Linked DNA regions of Homo sapiens: regions 1, 2, 3 and 5 are each linked to region 4. The links are contacts of gene promoters, found by promoter capture Hi-C in human tissues and cell types (Jung and others, 2019). All regions are on one chromosome and are shown on one strand. Each heading gives the region's core, a stretch centred on a gene start or on the middle of the fragment in contact. The rest is flanking DNA. Distances are from core to core; before and after follow the strand shown.

What was found. The method cuts DNA at HindIII sites, captures the fragments that hold promoters and counts their contacts. A contact is called where the count stands out against the background at its distance.
Region 1: a contact is called between a fragment that was not itself captured here and the fragment with the promoter of ISL1 in region 4, in 1 of the 25 tissues and cell types used here (H1 embryonic stem cells).
Region 2: a contact is called between a fragment that was not itself captured here and the fragment with the promoter of ISL1 in region 4, in 3 of the 25 tissues and cell types used here (H1 embryonic stem cells, mesendoderm cells and thymus).
Region 3: a fragment that was not itself captured here is called in contact with the fragment with the promoter of ISL1 in region 4 in 3 of the 25 tissues and cell types used here (mesendoderm cells, small bowel and thymus).
Region 5: a contact is called between a fragment that was not itself captured here and the fragment with the promoter of ISL1 in region 4, in 1 of the 25 tissues and cell types used here (spleen).

The regions. Positions count from the first base shown.
Region 1 is chr5:51,819,179-51,822,823 of GRCh38, reverse strand. No RefSeq gene overlaps it. Among named protein-coding and RNA genes, the nearest start is that of LINC02118, 190 kb to the left of the region's middle. The HindIII fragment of the contact is 6,037 bases long and covers 1-3,645 here.
Region 2 is chr5:51,081,149-51,084,638 of GRCh38, reverse strand. No RefSeq gene overlaps it. Among named protein-coding and RNA genes, the nearest start is that of LINC02106, 110 kb to the right of the region's middle. The HindIII fragment of the contact is 3,909 bases long and covers 1-3,490 here.
Region 3 is chr5:50,989,797-50,993,588 of GRCh38, reverse strand. No RefSeq gene overlaps it. Among named protein-coding and RNA genes, the nearest start is that of LINC02106, 22 kb to the right of the region's middle. The HindIII fragment of the contact is 4,087 bases long and covers 160-3,792 here.
Region 4 is chr5:51,381,245-51,384,995 of GRCh38, reverse strand. ISL1 (ISL LIM homeobox 1) reads right to left here and starts at 1,548. Exons shown (of 6, transcript NM_002202.3): 1 at 1,297-1,548; 2 at 266-455. The coding sequence starts at 1,324. It overlaps ISL1-DT (ISL1 divergent transcript), which reads left to right and starts at 1,664. Exons shown (of 2, transcript NR_046243.1): 1 at 1,664-2,022. The HindIII fragment of the contact is 8,696 bases long and covers 1-3,314 here.
Region 5 is chr5:51,667,649-51,671,511 of GRCh38, reverse strand. No RefSeq gene overlaps it. Among named protein-coding and RNA genes, the nearest start is that of ISL1, 290 kb to the right of the region's middle. The HindIII fragment of the contact is 7,640 bases long and covers 1-3,863 here.

The sequences.
Region 1 (3,645 bases), core at 415-2,914, 440 kb before region 4:
CAATTGGTTAAACAAAAAAGACATGATTGTCAATATCAAGTGTTGGTGAAAAGGTGTTGACAAGGAAGTTCTTATAAACTTTAAAGATTAGCTTGACATTAAAGTTGAAGTTACTTGTAGCCTGCAAATTGTCAATTGTATTTCAGTAGTTCATCTCACAGCTATTTTGAACACAAGGACTGGGCCAAATGTATTCACTGTAGCCTTATGTGTAACAATAAAAATTTGGAGCAACTCAAATGATCATAATCAGGGACATAAATTAACTCACTTATTAGAAAAAATTTGAATGTCTACTATTTGCCAAACTCTGTAATAGACATTCATAAACCACTGAACTACATGCAAAAATTCACAATTTCAATAAATACATTGGGTGGTACATTCGTAGACTATCATGCTATAAAATATTTTTATGCATGAACTAGATTAATACATAACAAAGTAATTAGAATTTTGAAAACAATGTTGAGTGAAAAAGTAAGTTACAGAATGTTACATATTATTTGAAATATTAAAGGAACATTTAAAGGCAAACACAACCAATATGGAACCCTATATGGTTTGTGGATATATTAATATTTAATAAATATATGTTATATTTTTGACAAACACATTTTATAATAATAATAACCTTTTGAGAGAAATGAGGGAAAGATACTGGTAAGGATGCATGGGACATATCAATTTTATCTTTAAGATTTTATGTATTCAAAATGTGTCAAAGCAATTACAAAATAATGCTACTATTTATCTAATTTATTTGTTGATGTATTCGTATGTTCTATACATTTGGCTACCATAAGAGGCATATAAAAATGAGAGGGTCATATTCAATCTCTGGGCTGGCAGAGTGGCTTTACACAGTGTCAAGAGGGTGAAGCTCTTTCTATTTAACTTCTCTGCCATTCTCGGATGCCATCTTGAGCCAAGATAAATACTTCAGTTTCCACATCATATTTGAATTCCAACCAGCAGGAGGAAGAAAGGAAAACTGAGGGAATGTTTATTCTTATTAAAAGCACAACCTAGAAAAAACACACCTCCCCTCTTGTATCTTACTTGCCAGAACTTAGGCTCATGATTACCCTAGCCATAAAAGATACTGGAAAATGTCTTTACGTGAGTGACCATGCACCTAATGTAATCATTTTGTTATTATGCAAAAGACAGAGAACAATTATTGGAGGAAAACTACCAATTTCTGCCATAGGTATTTGTAAATGATTAACTGCTGTTTTTTCATTACTTTATGTGATTCTGCTATGTAGAAAATCATACTCTTTGAAAATAAGTACAGGTGGCATCTTCCTGTCCAGTCCTTATATGTGTCTTCCCTTTACTGGTTTTATCAATTGGTTATGACTCAATTACAATGTTCAATAGGAGTAGCAGTGGTGAACAATTTGTCTTTCACCTTTCTTTCACAGCAACACTAAAATTTTACCATTGGCTTCTTTTCAAAGATTGCTCAATCTATGTGGAGAATACTTCTCAAAAAGATGGGTGAAGAGTATATGCAGAAGACCAGTTGATATGTTATTGCAGAACTCGAGGCAAGAGACAGGGTTTGGACCAGAGAGTGATTAGCAATGTGAATGGACAAAATTGCTTAGATTCCAAAAAAGAAAAAAAAAATGATCAGGGAAGAAAGGAGTGCTTGAATTCAAGTTATATTTTGAAGATAGAATCAATAGTATTTGGTGATAGATTATACTGTAATATGTATGTGAAGAATATAAGGAGAAAATAAGAATAAACAATGATTCTTTGGCTTCTGACTTGAGCGTTTGTGTAAGTTGTGATACCATTATTCAAGGTGGGAAGAACCTGGGAAGAATCAGAAAGTGGGGAGGGATGCAGGAATTAAGAATTGTGTTTTGACCTAGTTATTTAATACATTTGAAATAATTATTAGAAATTAAAATAGAGATGTCCAATCAGTATTTGGAAAATGCAGTCTGGCATTTAGGGGCAAGGTCTTGGTTAGTTACATAAATGTTCAGTTTTCAGTATATAGATGATATTTAAAGTTATATACCTGGATATATGCATCACTAGAGAGAGCATAGAGACAAGTAAAAAGTCAGAGGACTAAAATACGGGGGACCCCAGAATGTAGAGGTCCAGATATAAATGAAAGACCCAATGTGTGAAAGTAAAACTCATAGAGCTATAGTCAGGAAGGAAAAACAACAACGGAGGCAGTACTCTGAAAGCTTCATCAGAAATGGCAAATACTGCTTAAAGCATAAAATAAAACAAAAACTGAGAGTAGACTTTTGGAATGGGCTTTATGGGGGTTTTCACTACCTTTGTAAGTACGTTTTCAGTAGAATAAAGGAAATGATAGCTTGATTAGATTGAGTGGAGGAGAAAAGAGAGAAGAGTTGGAAAATGGAGACAGAATAAATTTTGGATTAGAATGAAACAGAATCAAAGAGAGTTATAGGATGAAGGCAGAGGTTGAGGTTTTCTTTTTTGTTTTAATAAAAGAGAGATTTTCAGTATGTTTCTATCATGATGGGAGTGATCCAGCACAGAAAAATTGATAGGGTAGCTGAGAAAACAGAAAAGACCAAAGTAATAATCTTCAAACGATAAGCAGGAATTAAAATCAATATTTATGGAAGGCTTGGCTTTAGAGAAAGGCAGAACAGTTTCTTTTCTTGCAGCAAGAAAGGCATGATATATGGGCACCAATACAGATTGATAGATTCAGAGATGAGAAAATGAGGACTTTCTCATCTACTTGTCTTGGTTTTTCCAGGGAAATCAGGTCCTCAGCTAAAAGGGTAGAGAAAAAGAATGTTGAGGTGTGAGAAGATAGGGGAAAGTATAAAATACCCACCAAAGACTAAGGGAGGGTGAATTGAATGTGGAAATGTGGAAGGATTACTGGACAGCCCTGGGGAATCACTTGGGTTTATGGTCATAAATATAAAAAAAGACAATGGATGGTTAAAGTTTTCCTTGGGTAGTTTCTGCTACTCCCATACAGGTATAGAACCGACTGAGTAAGAATTAATCAGGAATGAATTATTCTGATAATCAGTCAGAAGTAGAGAGGGTCAAAGGAGTAAGCGACATATGCAAGAGAATAATTATTTTCAGGAGACAATGTCATGTGTCCCTGATAACATTTTCTCTTTTTTCTCCCTAAAGGTGATATTTACCTTTTCATTTTTAGTAATCATTTCCTTGCTTTTCTTTATAGTGGTATCACCCATGGACCCTTCAACAGGATAATTTAGTTTTCCCTGTTTCTGACATTTATATAAAAAGGATTATATGGTATTTTTTGCTTCCTTAAACTAACATTAAATTTTGGTTTTTAATTTTATTATTATTATTATTATTATTATTTTGAGACGGAGTCTCCCTCTGTCGCCCAGGCTGGAGTGCAGAGGTGTGGTCTCGGCTCACTGCAACCTCCGCCTCCCGGATTCAAGCAATTCTCCTGCCTCAGCCTCCTGAGTGGCTGGGATTACAGGCACCCGCCACCACGCCCAGCTAATTTTTTGTATTTTTAGTAGAGACGGGGTTTCATCATGTTGGTCAGGCTGGTATCACACTCCTGACCTCATGGTCCACCCACTTCGGCCTCCCAAAGTGCTGGGATTACTGGCGGGAGCCACCGTGCCC
Region 2 (3,490 bases), core at 327-2,826, 300 kb after region 4:
GCCACTGCGTCTGGCCCAATAGGTCCCATTTCTAACATAAGAGAAAACAGAAGCACCCTAAGGTTAAGTAACTTGCCTGGGGTCACACAGACAGGAAGGTGTGGATCCACAGTGGATGGTGCCAGAGCTCTTCCCACCATGCGTCCTCAGTCTAGAGAAAGCCCAGGCAAGAGCAATAAGGATAGACAATATTCGCAAAGAAAAGATACCAAAATATTAATGAAGATTGCTTCTAGGTAATGAGATCTAGACACACTAGGGGGAAAGAGGGCATCTTTCTAATTTTGACGCTATTTTATTTTATGCAATGAACAGAATTGTAAACAGTATCAAGAATAAAAACAACAGCCTGAACTTAATGATGAGATTTTACTGTTAGTCCAAACTACACCCTATTGGCTATAAAAATAAGCTTTTTTTTTTTTTTTTTTTTTTTTTTTGAGACAGAATCTCACTCTGTCACCCAGACTGGAGTGCAGTGGCGTGATTTCGGCTCACTGCAACCTCCGCCTCCCGGGTTCAAGCGATTCTCCTGCCTCAGCCTCCCAAGTAGCTGGGACTACAGGTGCACACCACCACGCCCGACTAATTTTTGTATTTTTAGTAGAGACAGAGTTTCACCACGTTGGCCAGGATGGTTTGGATCTCCTGATCTCATGATCTGCCCGCCTTGGCCTCCCAAAGTGCTGGGATTACAGGCATGAACCACTGCGCCTGGCCGCTATTTTTTAAATATGAAAGTAACACGGCAAAAACTTTAAACCATAATACTAAGAGGCAGCAATAATTTTTAGGTAGTTTTCAGACATCTGTGCATATATAAGTGATGTATGTGTGTATATATTTCTGTATCTTGATATTAAAATAACAAAAAATGTTTGAGTGTGTACAATTTCATCACTTAATTTTTCTGAGCAGCTTCACCATAGTTTCTTATATTTATATACAATGACATATTTAATTAAAGCTTTATTTCTGTACATTTACCTTTTGGTGACTTTTTTATTATTAAAAATAGTGACAATGAAATCTGTCCAATTGTATGAGTATTTTCTAGATTTGAAATTGCATTTTAAACTTGGATAGATATTGCCAAATTTATATTCATAGAGGTTGTACTGATTTCCATTCCCATTAAGACGCTACCTATTGATCCAAACTCTTGGCTAATTTATGTATTGACAACTTTTAAATTTTTGATTGTCTGATATACATAAATTTGTGTCATTTTAACTTACACTTATACAATTATGTGGGAAGTTGAACATTTTTCATGCTTTTATAAAAGCCATTGGATTTTAAGTATAGTAACAAAGATATAAATATGCTGGCCAAAAATAAGAGGGAGAAATAAACACTTCTATGAGTTAAAAGAGGCCTAAGATAAAAAGAGTGGAAAAAGAAATGGCATGAGGAAAATTAACATTAACCTTTTGATGTAGAAATAGATGGACTAGCTTCAGAGAGGAAGTACATTCCTTTTTCTGAGATAAGAAGAGGGGATGAGAAGACTGGATAGAACAAAAGAATGGCTGTGAAGTACAGAAGTAAAAAAATTGAGATAGTTGATGATAGATTACTTCAAGGTGCTCAAGGTGAGAGACAGAGATAAGGTCATTAACTTATCTAATTTCAATTTCTTTATTTTTAGTATGGATCAGATCAGATGATCCTTCCAACTCTGATTAGCCCAGTATCTGGATCGAGATAAGGCACCCATAGGAGTTTCCCAAAGTGTGTTTTGATAATTTGAACATAATAGGGTTAAAAAGAGGCAAGGTAACTGGAGTGGTGTGATAACCCTGGGAAGAGGCTGCCCACAGAGTTTCAGGTGAGAGAAGAGCCTGTGAGGACAGCAGAGGATGAATGGAGTTAGCACTGGTGAGAGCTGAGGGCAGGATACAGCAAGGGCTGAGAGCAGATGTGAGAGTAATAAAGTGGAGAGAATGATGTGTATCCTGACTCTTGGTACAGTATTCTTTCTAGAGTGACATACTATTTTTTAAGTTAATTCAAGAATTCAGAAATAGTTTGATTAAATTACACCATCAAGATATAATTGCATATTGTAAAACAGTCCCAATGTTAGGTGCAAACAGATCATGAATAATACATGATTTTTACTAAAGCAGTGAACTAAATTTTAATATAAAATTATATCTCAGAATATGTCTGTTTCTGATAATACCATGTTTCATTGAAACTAAGATGTCATTAATAGAAAAGTATATAATTACTCATCACTAAAAAAAATCTGCAATTAAACTAGCCCTCAATTTCAGAGAGCTTGCAATATTTTAAAGAATGTTAATATATGAAATATATTATATTTTATATGTATTATATATGTAAGTTCATTTAGCCATTGTCTTTAAAATAAAGCCACTGGCAAATAAATAGACCATAAAATTTTAAAAAGATATGTACATATTACTTTTATTGCTTTAGTATACAGGAATGTACATTTTAGGGTCACAAAATTAGGTTTAAAATTGTACTTTGTAAAAAAAAAAATCTGTTTACTAGTTGCTTATACCAGAAAAGGCACAAAGAATACCTAAAAGGAAGAGATTTGGAAGAACCTAGTAATAGAACAAAACTAAAAACCATCTTTGTCAACACTTTGGTCAACAAAGCAAAACAAATGCAGAGTACTTACAAAATAATAATGGGAAAAAAACACACACAAATTAGAACCCATGGGGTTTGGCCAACACTATTTTTAGAGAAAATCTATAGTCTTAAAATTCCTTGCAAGAAGAAATAAAAATAAAATGTAAGTATTCAATAGCAAGAAAAGATAAAATATATGAGAAGAACTGACTTACAGTTAAAAGCAAATTCAATAAAATGTGAAAAGAAAGCAATCCAACAGTTACTTGTTTATAGGGAAATCCGATGTAATAGAAAAGTTAATAACCACTTAATTTAAGTAAATGATGAGAAATCATCATATATGAAGTTAGAAGTATCATTGGGAAAGTAGCAAATTAAAAATGAGATACAATTGTAAGTGCAGACACAAAAACAATTAAATTAAAAGTAAGAAAATTATTTTGCACAGAGTAAAATAAAAATATACTGAAATTATAAATCTTACTCTTTAAAATGAATGATTTTCTATTAAAATATAAATGAGAAAGTAATAACAAATTAACAAACCCATTGCTATAGAAGAAACTAAGAAAATCACAAGTCACTCGCATCAGCAAAAACATTTGCCTCAGACAGTTTCACAAATCAGTTTATCAATTCTTTCAAACCTATAAAGAACATGTAGGTTATTTTAACAATTTTAGGTCATATATAGAAGAGAAAATTTCTTAGTCTTCCAAGGCCAGTGTCAAATGTAACAAAGAGAGTACAAGAATATTTATAAATATTTATAAGAATAAATATAAAATATTTAATAGTAAAACATGCACATGTGCACACATACACACACACACACACACACACACACACACACACACACACACAATTCTTGCCC
Region 3 (3,792 bases), core at 954-3,453, 390 kb after region 4:
GTATCTATCCTAGACATTCCCTTTTTCTGATAATAGCCCTCCTACCTTTGTCCCTGCAGCCTAGTGCAACGTGATTTCCTGTTCTTGCTCATCTATGAGTTTATTTGCAACTTCAGGTGGGTTTTTCAGTTCTAGCTAACCAATTCTCACATGAAATTCCCTTGTTTTAAATACAGATATTGGTTTCTATTTTCTATCTGGACCCTGACTCACACAGCACCAAGCCCTTTGGTCATGAGATCCACCAGTGGAGGTGGAAAATTGAAATAGCCCCTAAGGTATTGCCATGAAGGAGTGATGGTGAGGCAAAGGGACAAGGGAAGTGATTAATGGCAAGACACTGATTACAGCAACATATCCTGCATTTTCGGTCTAATTCAGTAATACAATACTAACGCTGTGTAGAATAAGAATAGAGTCATTGGCACCAGGAAGCCACACAAAATAAATTCTACTTCATGTCTCAGTGATTTAAAACTCAGATATAAGTGATTTTTTAAACATGTGTAGAAGTGATAGTTGCTTCAGACAGTAGATACAGGGCTTATAGAATTATTTTTACATTGACCAGACTCTGAAACTTATGACACAAAAGGGTTTTCTCAGAACTGCACACACCAATATTCTTGGATTCATGAATGATAAGAAAAAAGCTCATTTTTTTCTCTTATACTTTTAGTAAAGCTGCAAGATTAGGTGACTTATTTTTATCCAACTTAACAACCCTAAAGCAGAAATTAGACATACTACTTTTGTTTTTATAAAGTATTAGGAATGTCTGGGACAATGACAACTCTAAACCTCATCACCATTTCTTTTGGCTTCTATTTTTTGTGTGATTCTGTTTGCGTGTGTGTGTGTGTGTGTGTGTGCATTTGTGTGTGATATTGCAGCTTTTTGGGCCAGTATGTTGAGTAATGAGTGAGGTAAGGTAGTATGTGTGAGATGATGAGACCAACATAATCTAGTTGGTTGTAAAATATGTAATCAGTTCAAACTGATAATATATACATATGAATGCATGCACATGAATTATCACATACATTTTGAGGGAGAAAGAAAAACTCAAAAGGAGCCAAGAAAAATTCTTCACAAGATTGTTTCCAAGAATAACAGTAGAAAAATAACAATGTCACTAGGTATTTAATATACAGCTTTTAAACGTGTAATCTAATGAACAAAAATAGAGGTGATTATTCTACTTTAGCTGTGCTAAAGAATAAGTATTTGCATCAATGTTTTCTGTATTTTTCAGAGAATAATGTAGTTTTAAGGTGCCAAAGCTAATCCTTTCACAAAACTATCTTCCAGGGAAAGGGTCAAACAATTAAATAGAGTCCTAAGTCTAACTCTGTTAGTTGCCTTTAAAGGTACCAGGTACTATTTTTTTTTTAAGTTCAATTGGCCAAAATAATGTATTTAATATAAAGTATATCTCAATAAAATGTATGTTTTTTAAAAAAGCTTTCAACACAAAGGATAAATGCTTGACATGATAGATACACCATTTATACTGATGTGATTATTATCATTGAGTGACTGCATCAAAATACCTCATGGAACCCATAAATATACACACCTACCATGTACTCAAAAAATTAAAAATTAAAAAAAATTAAAAAGCTTTCAAGACAATGAACACCTTAAACAGACTCTGTGCCTTTCAAGCCAGAGACATTTTGAGAGCTGAAGAGTCACTTGCATTTTGTTTTGTATTTATTTTCTACCATAATCCATTTCTGTCCCTTTATCCTATGATATTTATTTTTCCCACAAAAGCACATAGGGAAGTGCACAATGGTAAAATGGGTTCTTTTATTGTTTAATCTCTTTACTTCCTAACTCAACAGATAATTCATCTGTAGTAAAAGTTTACCCTGAGGTTTAAATCCATGGAAGTTACTTACATTTAGAGACACTGCAGGTGCACAACAAAGGCAACTATATCCACTCAGTGTAAACTTAATTCCTAAATGCCCTTTTCTCAGAAAGCAAAACAAAACAATGGTTCATTTCTGGTTAATTGTCGTGACAGAAATTTAACAAAGTGATGGTCTGTCCATGATTGATTATTTAGAATTCTAAATTTAGAAGCTAAGAACTGCAATCAAGTGGAAATCATTAGTAATTGCATGTATATTTGCAATTCATAAATATTTTTTAGTTTCTGAAGTCTTTCACATTGCACTGGGGAACCAGGTGTAGGCTATGTTTTTAGTTGCTTGTCTACAGATAAAGTTCAGAAATGCTATTTAAATAAGAGTTATGGTTGTTCTAGCTTGACTGCCCCTCAGATCCAGCCAGGCTAGCTGTAGGTAGAGTTAGGCAACCCCAGCCCTCACACTGCTCCCCCATCTCCCTTTTTTATGTTTTTAGTGAACAAATTCCTATCATAAAGTATTTGGGACTCAAATAAATGTCCAATCACCTCCTTGGTTTGACTGAAGCCAGGAGTTCATGGGAAAGGACTAAGGTGTGTCTATCATTGAAATCTAGACCCACACAAACATGGCTGAATGGATTTCAGAGAGGAAAACTAAGCCTCTGAGGGGGAAACCCCTGTGAGTAGTGGCAGATGGGAGCTAGACTCAGCAGGTGGGCCTGGTTGCTTGTAGAAAGGCTTTCAGGCAGTCCCTGACCACCCCGGACCCCATCTTTTTGGAGAGCCTGACACTCTGAGGAAGTCAACGGCTATGCCAAAAAGAGCCAGAATTCATCCCTAGAGGTCAATGAAGCGCTACTCTTCATCACCCCCTTTCTCCTGCCTCTCCCATCCGAAACAGAAAAAGATTTGTGCTAGTGGCCAGAAACAGAAAGACAAGCTGCAGAGACCCAGCGGCACATTGTGAAAGCTGAAGGAAGGGAGAGAAAGTACAGAGGCCACGGCCTGAGATCACACCCTGCGTGTTCTGCGCACGATTCGGAGCAAGCAACAGACTGCACAGGGCCCCACAGGCAGTGGAAAAGGCAGGTGCCTGAAAGAAATTAACAATCGGTGCACATGGCCCAAGATCAGCAACACAAAGGTGGGCATGGAATAAAGGAATGTGGCATTTCAGAAAGGGGCCCTGACACTCTGAGAGGGAAAGCCACCGTGCTAATCACCCAACCACAGGATTACACATACGCAGCCCTCACAACTGAGGGCATCTCAGAAACATTTGGGGAGAGAACCGCCTAGAAGATGTTGGATTTTCTTCCACTGATTAGATAGCGTTTCTGAGCAGAGCGATCAGTGTATTACTGAAAATGCCATCTACATTGTTCCTGTTGGTTCCTGAAGCTTGAAGCATGACAAATATGTATCTAGATAAAAACGATTGCATGCTAGTGTATCAAACAAACGATCTCAAGAGTCAGTTCATTGTTCTTTCTTGCTGTGGCCATGAGCTAAAATTAAATACAAATGTGATACTAATTTTATCACGTATTAGTTTTCTGTTTCTGTGTAAGAAGATCCTACAAACTTAGCAGCTTACAGCAACATCCATTTATTAGCTCATAGTTTTGTAGGACAGAAGTGACTGAGTTCTCTGCTCAGGGTACTGCAAGGGCTGAAGATAAGGTCTTGGTCAGCCCGGCTGTTCTCATCTGATGGCTTCAGCAAAACGTACATATCCATGCTCATTTTTGTGGTTGACAGAATTAAGTTCGTTGCAATTGTAGGACTGAGATCCCTGTTTCTTTGATGGCTGCCAAGCAGGGGCTATTCTGGACACCTAGATGCAGTCCTTGCCATGTGGCCACCCCCATCGTCAAGCCAGAAATGCTTTGGTTTCATGCTTCAAATCT
Region 4 (3,751 bases), core at 299-2,798:
CATCATAAACTCCAAGAGTAATTAAACAAGCCTCAATACCCCGGAATTATGAATACCACTGTTAAGGGTTTTTGTTTTTCTCAACTAAAGAATGAAATGAACAGCATAGCTTGATTTTTTTAACACATGTACAGGGTAACTTTGGCTTGTATGACTACACTGAGGCAAACTTCACAAAAAGACAAAGCCACACCAAATAATACATAAAGAGTGGGGAGATTCAGGGAAATCCCACAAAATTAAGAAAGAAGTGTAAATGCCATACCTGATATAATCTCTTTTACAGTAGGTTTTCCCATCCCTAACAAAGCATGTACAGCTCTCGTCCAAATACTGATTACACTCCGCACATTTCAAACATGCCGCATGCCATTCCAAATCCGGAGAAACCCTCAGAATATACTGATCGTGAATCTGATTGCCGCAACCAACACATAGGGAAATCAGACGTTTTTCTGAAATGAAAATAAATACATGATTGACTAACCGTTTACTTCCTACAGAGATAAACACACTTTTAGTGTCGTTCTCTTATAGGGCGTACTCTGGGAGGTTTTTTTCTTTCTTTCTTTCTTTCTTTTTTTTTTTTTTTAGAGCATTGCACTTTGGGATGGTAATTGAAATGTGCCATCAAAACCTTGACTCATTTTTAAAAGGAGGTGGAATATATGTAAAATGCAGATTGGAATAGTCTACATTTGTACGCCTAGCACGCAATCAAACCCGCTCATTTTGTATTTCTCCCCCCCCCCTTCCTCTTTGCTATAATCATTGGGAAAGATTATGGATAAGTCAAGTCAAAGAAAAGGTTTTGACTAGAAGCGTTAAGTGAACGCAGGGATGTCTATATTTTCCGTGAAGCGCGCTCTTAAATAGCACACAGGACTGGATATTGTTAGCAAGAGCAGGCATAAATACAGTTGTCACTCGTTCTCTTTTGCAAGTCTAATGCTAATTCACATCTCTGGGCATTGACTGTGCAGGCAGACCTTTGCAACATAATAACCTTCTCGGAGAGCTCAGGATTCCCCAGGAGGAAATCACCGCTTAGCACCAGAAAGCTAGAGCTTTGGAGGGCACACAGGCGAATTCACACACAAGGTACAATCAGTTTCCCGAAGATAAGAACCGACAGTAAGCATGCAGGCGTGGCGGCAACAAGAAAAAGCCACCTTTTCTCTTTCTCCAGGCAATGACTCCAACTCCAAAGAGCCCTTGGCACCTCAGCCTGTGCCTGAGAGAGAACCCCGCACAAGAACAGCACACCGAGCCCCACAAGGTAAAATAGCCTCTTACTTTTTGGTGGATCTCCCATGTCTCCCATATCTGTAAGAGGGAGTAATGTCCACAGTGAAATGGTGGTTGTACAGTTGGTGAACAGCCCACAGAGAGGATGCTGGAGCTGTGGCTAAGTGGGAAATATTGGCCCCTGGGGTTGCCAATGCTGAAAGAGCCGCTGCTCGGCTGCGCCGCGCCCTCGCGGATCTAGGAGTCCAATTTAAGCCGGCGGAGTTGGCGGAGCGGAGGCGCTGCGGCGGCGGCAGACTCGGCGCGGCTCGGGCACCTCTCTTCCTTATCTCTTACTCAAACTTCTCTGCTCCAACTCAGCTCCATCGCCATTGGTCTGACGCAGCGCGCGGGGACGTCAGGCGAGCGCCGCGCCCATTGGCTGCAGGGCGCGCGGCGCAGCTGTTCTGATTATCATATTTCAGCCTCGCCGCCGCTGAGCGCCACTGACCGCTCGGCGAGCCAGCGGGAGAGGATTAGGGCTCCCGAGGCAACTTGCTCGGGGCTCAGGCCGTTCTCCCCCGAAGCTCGGGCTGCCGGGCTGTTCTGGCTCTGGCCTCCCTCTCCTCCTCTTCCTCTTCCTTCTGTCCCCTCCCGCGTTCCTTCCCGGCCGCGCCGCCTGCGCCCTCGCCTCCTGTGGCGCTGCTCCTCCGCCCTGCGCTCCTGGGGTCCCCGCAGTCCGGCTGGCCGCGTTGCGCGCGGGGCTCACTTTCTGCCGCCGGTGGCGAGTGGCTGGTGGGTAGGTCTACCTGTTGACGAGGTCCCTCCCGGGCTCTAGGAAAAGGGGGGAACTTGGAGCAGGCCGTTCAGCTTGGTTTGGTCCCCACGCCGTGGTGCACATCCCCGGGGCCTGGCCTGCCTTGGCTGCTCCGGAGGGCTAGTTCCTCCAGAACTGGCTGCGCTCGGCGCGCTAGGGGAAGAAGAATCGGGAATGGGATGATTAAACCCAGAGGAACTGTTTCCTGACTGCTACACCATTACTCCGTCTCCCCCAACCTCAGATATCTAAAAACGTTGGGTGGGAGGAAAGGGGCGCTTCTTGCTGTTGGGACAATCAGGTTGGAACGCACCGGTAAACCGAAGTTGACTCCGCGGACTGACTTTTTGTCTTTCAGACCCGCGAGGTCTGCTTCTCAGTTTAACTCTAGAATTGAAGCTCACTAACCCGAAGCCAAAGAGCGAAATGATCTTTCAGTAGTCTAAAGTTTGTAAGATTTTTATATACTGTTCAATTCTTCTCACTGCTGGTCTCCTGCCCTTTGTTTTTAAGCAAACTTGTGCAACTAGCTGTGGTATTTTGGTAATTATAAGGACAAGTCTCCATGACTTTGTGGAGATTTTTTAAAAATGCATTAGTCTAAGGGCGCGAGTAGGGAGGGATTTATTACAGAACAGTGAAAGACCTATTTCACGTCCCCAGGCGTTAATATATAATTTTCTCTCGAGAAACTACTTGGAGAGAGAAGACTGTTAGGTGCAACTCGCCGGTAACCTTCTTCAATCATTCTTACATGTTCCCATCATCTGTTACGGTCTCCCAAAGACAGTCACAGGAAGGCCACGAAGAACCCCCGCGCTTCCCCCAAAGCTTCTAAAAAGCCATTTCTTATCTAATGGGGCTGCCAGTTTTATCTAAAAAGTCCTACAGACACAAACCATAGAAGGCTTAATTTCGGTGTCTTGTTGCTGTGAGAAGACCCGGTGTGTTAGGAAACTCCTTTCTTTATATCTTTCGCAAAATCTAACCCTTGATAAGAGCTGTAAATCCTGGCCGGCCGCATTGGCTGGGCTTGAACGGGTAATGCCTCTCCAAAGCGGAAAGGGAATCAAAGATGCGTAAGTTTCCTCCTGACCTAGCTGAGGCTTTCTTCCCCAGGAACTAGTTTTGATTTGTTTTTTCTCAAGGAGGATTTCAAATTGGATCTGTCTTCCCTTCCATTTTTATTATAAGTTGTTTTAGAGCGCGTGTATGAAAGCGAAAGTTGGATAGACCTAGGTTGATAAGTTTACCAGTTGTGTGGTGTGTGTTTTTTTTTTTTTTTTTTTTTGGTCTGTTTCTAGTCTCTGGTATTAGATGTATGGAGCCTTTTGTCAGGCTGCTTTTGCAAAGCTGATGCTGTTAATCTCAATACGAAGCAAATCTTCCTAGTATTTGTGTGTGTTTCCCATAGAGATAAACATGTTGACCCTAGTAAAAAAAAAAAAAAAAAAAGATACCACCACAATGCCAGAAAATAGAGTTTTACCTAGTCATATTCCATCATGCCACTTTTATAAGATGGAATTAAACACCAGAAGCCACCAGAAGCCTGATGACTTACATTTGAGATCCACAAAGCACCCTCACTATCCATCCTCCTTCAAACCAGCCCCCACCTCCCACCCACAGTGTGGTATTTTAACTCCCTAAACCAATAAGCTATTACAAAGAATTATTGCAGATGATAGCACTTCCAAGTAGAAA
Region 5 (3,863 bases), core at 1,107-3,606, 290 kb before region 4:
TTAAATAGTATGGGCAGAATAGGAAATGATCAGTGTATGCAAAGGCAGTTGAACCATTTTTTTTTAAATGAGGACAGAAAAGTGACTTCTGGATTTGAGTTAACAGAAGACATTACAAGAGCAGTTTCAGAGCATTGTACAGATGGAGTAGGTTCAGGATAAATTTTTAAAATGAGACATTAGAGGTTGTTATTGTAGAAAAATATTTTCAAGGTTAGCTTTGAAAGAAAACAAAATCTCAAGACACTGTTGAAAGCCAAGGTAATTTATAGATTTCATGCCATCCCCGTCAAGCTACCAATGACTTTCTTCACAGGATTGGAAAAAAACTACTTTAAAGTTCATATGGAACCAAAAAAGAGCCCGCATTGCCAAGTCAATCCTAAGCCAAAAGAACAAAGCTGGAGGCATCACACTACCTGACTTCAAACTATACTGCAAGTCTACAGTAACAAAAACAGCATGATACTGGTACCAAAACAGAGACATAGACCGATGGAACAGAACAGAGCCCTCAGAAATAATGCCACATATCTACAACTATCTGATCTTTGACAAACCTGAGAAAAACAAGCAATGGGGAAAGAATCCCCTATTTAATAAATGGTGCTGGGAAAACTGGCTAGCCATATGTAGAAAGCTGAAACTGGATCCCTTCCTTACACCTTATACAAAAATTAATTCAAGATGGATTAAAGATTTAAAAGTTAGACCTAAAACCATAAAATCCCTAGAAGAAAACCTAGGCAATACCATTCAGGACATAGGCATGGGCAAAGACTGCATGACTAAAACACCAAAAGCAATGGCAACGAAAGTCAAAATTGACAAATGGGATCTAACTAAACTAAACAGCTTCTGCACAGCAAGAGAAACTACCATCAGAGTAAACAGGCAACCTACAGAATGGGAGAATATTTTTGCAATGTACTCATCTGACAAGGCTAATATCCAGAATCCACAATGAACTCAAACATATTTACAAGAAAAAAACAAACAACCCCATCAAAAAGTGGGCGAAGTATATGAACAGACACTTCTCAAAAGAAGATATTTATGCAGCCAAAAGACACATGAAAAAATGCTCATCATCACTGGCCATCAGAGAAATGCAAATCAAAACCACAATGAGATACTATCTCACACCAGTTAGGATGGCGATCATTAAAAAGTCAGGAAACAACAGGTGCTGGAGAGGATGTGGAGAAACAGGAACACTTTTACACTGTTGGTGGGACTGTAAACTAATTCAACCATTGTGGAAGTCAGTGTGGCAATTCCTCAGGGATCTAGAACTAGAAATACCATTTGACCCAGCCATCCCATTACTGGGTATATACCCAAAGGATTATAAAACATGCTGCTATAAAGACACATGCACATGTATGTTTATTGCGGCACTATTCACAATAGCAAAGACTTGGAACCAACCCAAATGTCCAATAATGATAGGCTGGATTAAGAAAATGTGGCACATATACATCATGGAATATTATGCAGTCATAAAAAATGATGAGTTCATGTCCTTTGTAGGGACATGGATGAAGCTGGAAACCATCATTCTCAGCAAACTATCACAAGGACAAAAAAACAAACACCGAATCTTCTCACTTATAGGTGGGAATTGAACAATGAGAATACATGGACACAGGAAGAGGAGCATCACACACCGGGGCCTGTTGTGGGGTGGGGGAGGGGGGAGGGATAGCATTAGGAGATATACCTAATGTTAAATGACTAGTTAATGGGTGCAGCACACCAACATGGCACAGGTATACATATGTAACAAATCTGCAAGTTGTGCGCATGTACCCTAAAACTTAAAGTATAATTTAAAAAAAAAAGAAAAAGATGTGACGTCAAAGTCATGCTCTAAGGCTGGCAGGTACTAAAGAGGGTGGGTATGCTGGTGGAAATAATCAAATGCATATAAAGAGAAATTGATGATGCAGAAGAAAGGAAATATATGAAGGAGCAAAGCTATTGGAAAGGTGAGAACAGATGGCATCTCATAACATTGCTTTGCGTAGGAGCTGATACAGGAAGTCCACCTAACCATTGTAATCGGATGAAAGGTAGAGAATCTGGCAAATTGAGGTATTGTTAGGTATCGTAGGGTTGGAAAAGTAGAGGGGGTCATTTGATTATTTCTGCTGATTCTGTGGCCCAGGAATGCAAGTTTTTGATCTATATTCAAAATAATTTCCTGGCACGCTCATCAGGTGTTAGTCATACTTCCTCTCCTCTGGGTTCAAATCCAGAAAGAATAAGAATAGGGAGCCAAATGGGAAGAGAAGTATCAGCTTTATTCTTTCAAGCAGTAAAAATTTGGTAAAGTTGTACAGTATATACAGTTAAATATTTGAATCTCAAAGAAGAGTATGAGATAGAGTTCAAGATTTTAGAGTCAGTGGTTAAAGCCTGGGATTTGAATGAGGTCATCTAGGGAGAGAATATGGTATGATAAAAGAAGAAGGCTGGAAATGAAACACCGAATAAAATGCATATTTTAAGTGCAAGCCAAAAAACAAAAAAGGCTACTAACAAGTAACCAGAACATTTAGTATCTTGGAATCCAACATTCTGAGCTATAGTGTCAAATAACAAAGAAAAAGTCAAGTGAGAAGAGATGAAGATAGGGTAATAGGAGTATCATTAGTGATCTTAACAGAGATAGTTTAGTGGAATAGATCTGAAGTTGGATTCTACTGGATTGAGTACTGAAAGGAAGAAAGGAAATGTGGTTATCCTGAGGTTGGTCTATTATTTCAAGACTCTTGACTGTAATTGGGCAGAGAGGGAAACAAGAGTAACTACGGAGAGTGGACATTTCGTTGTGCAGGTTTTGTATATTATTAATGGTAGAGACTTAGGTAAGTTTACTTACTAAGAGCAAAGTAGCAAGTAGGAGCTTATAGACAGAGAGAGAGTGAGAGGGAGAATAATCAATGAAACAAGTACCTCAGAGAATAAGAAACATGGTGGCCATAGCAAAACATGGCAGAATGAGTCTTAGACAGGTATATGTATGTAACTTGGTAAGTGTTAGTACAGGAAATAGGGAGATCTCAGCTGAAACTCTGGAATCAGTGAGGAACAGAACAAATTAAGGGAAGGGAAATAAAATTGAATGAGTTCTTTACCCCAAGTGGTTTCTCCAAGCATGATCAGAATCCAGGGTAAATAGAAAAATGAAATAAACATATGAACTTATGAAATGAGACACTAAACAGAAACGTATTTCCTGAAATTAAGGAGGTTTTCAAGAAGAAAATTCTCACTCCATTTCTGAAAATTACTCCTCCACCTCCAATTCCCCATGAAGAGATCAATGCCTAAGAGTCTCTGAGATAAATTCAGATTTTTTAAAAAAGGCATGTGCAGACAGTACAAATCACATGATTAACTAAAAGCAGACAGGAACTAATGGCTCATGTCTATACAAGTTATACCTTGAATAAGATTTTAAAAATAAGAAACAAAAGTTTTCTTTTAAAGCAATAAAAAAACACACCAAATTTGCCACACTCTCTGGTATGTCCTAAAGGGTTGATTAAGATAATGCCATCCACTAAGTATATGAAATACGGGCATCTGATAAAGGCTTTAATGAGATTCTTGTTGACAAGTTGAGGAAAGTGGACTTGATGACTATTTTATCCAGGGGAATTGGTTACTGACAGAAAGATGGCCAATTAATAGAATGATCATGGCCAGAAGGAAAGTCTTCAAGTGAAATGTTGAAGAGTGCAGTTTTCAACCTTACCTATTGCAAACATTTTATCAATGACTCAGATGTCATAATGCATGGCATGTTTATGATAGGAAGAGCAAACTAACAAAAATATGCAGGAGTGCAAGTG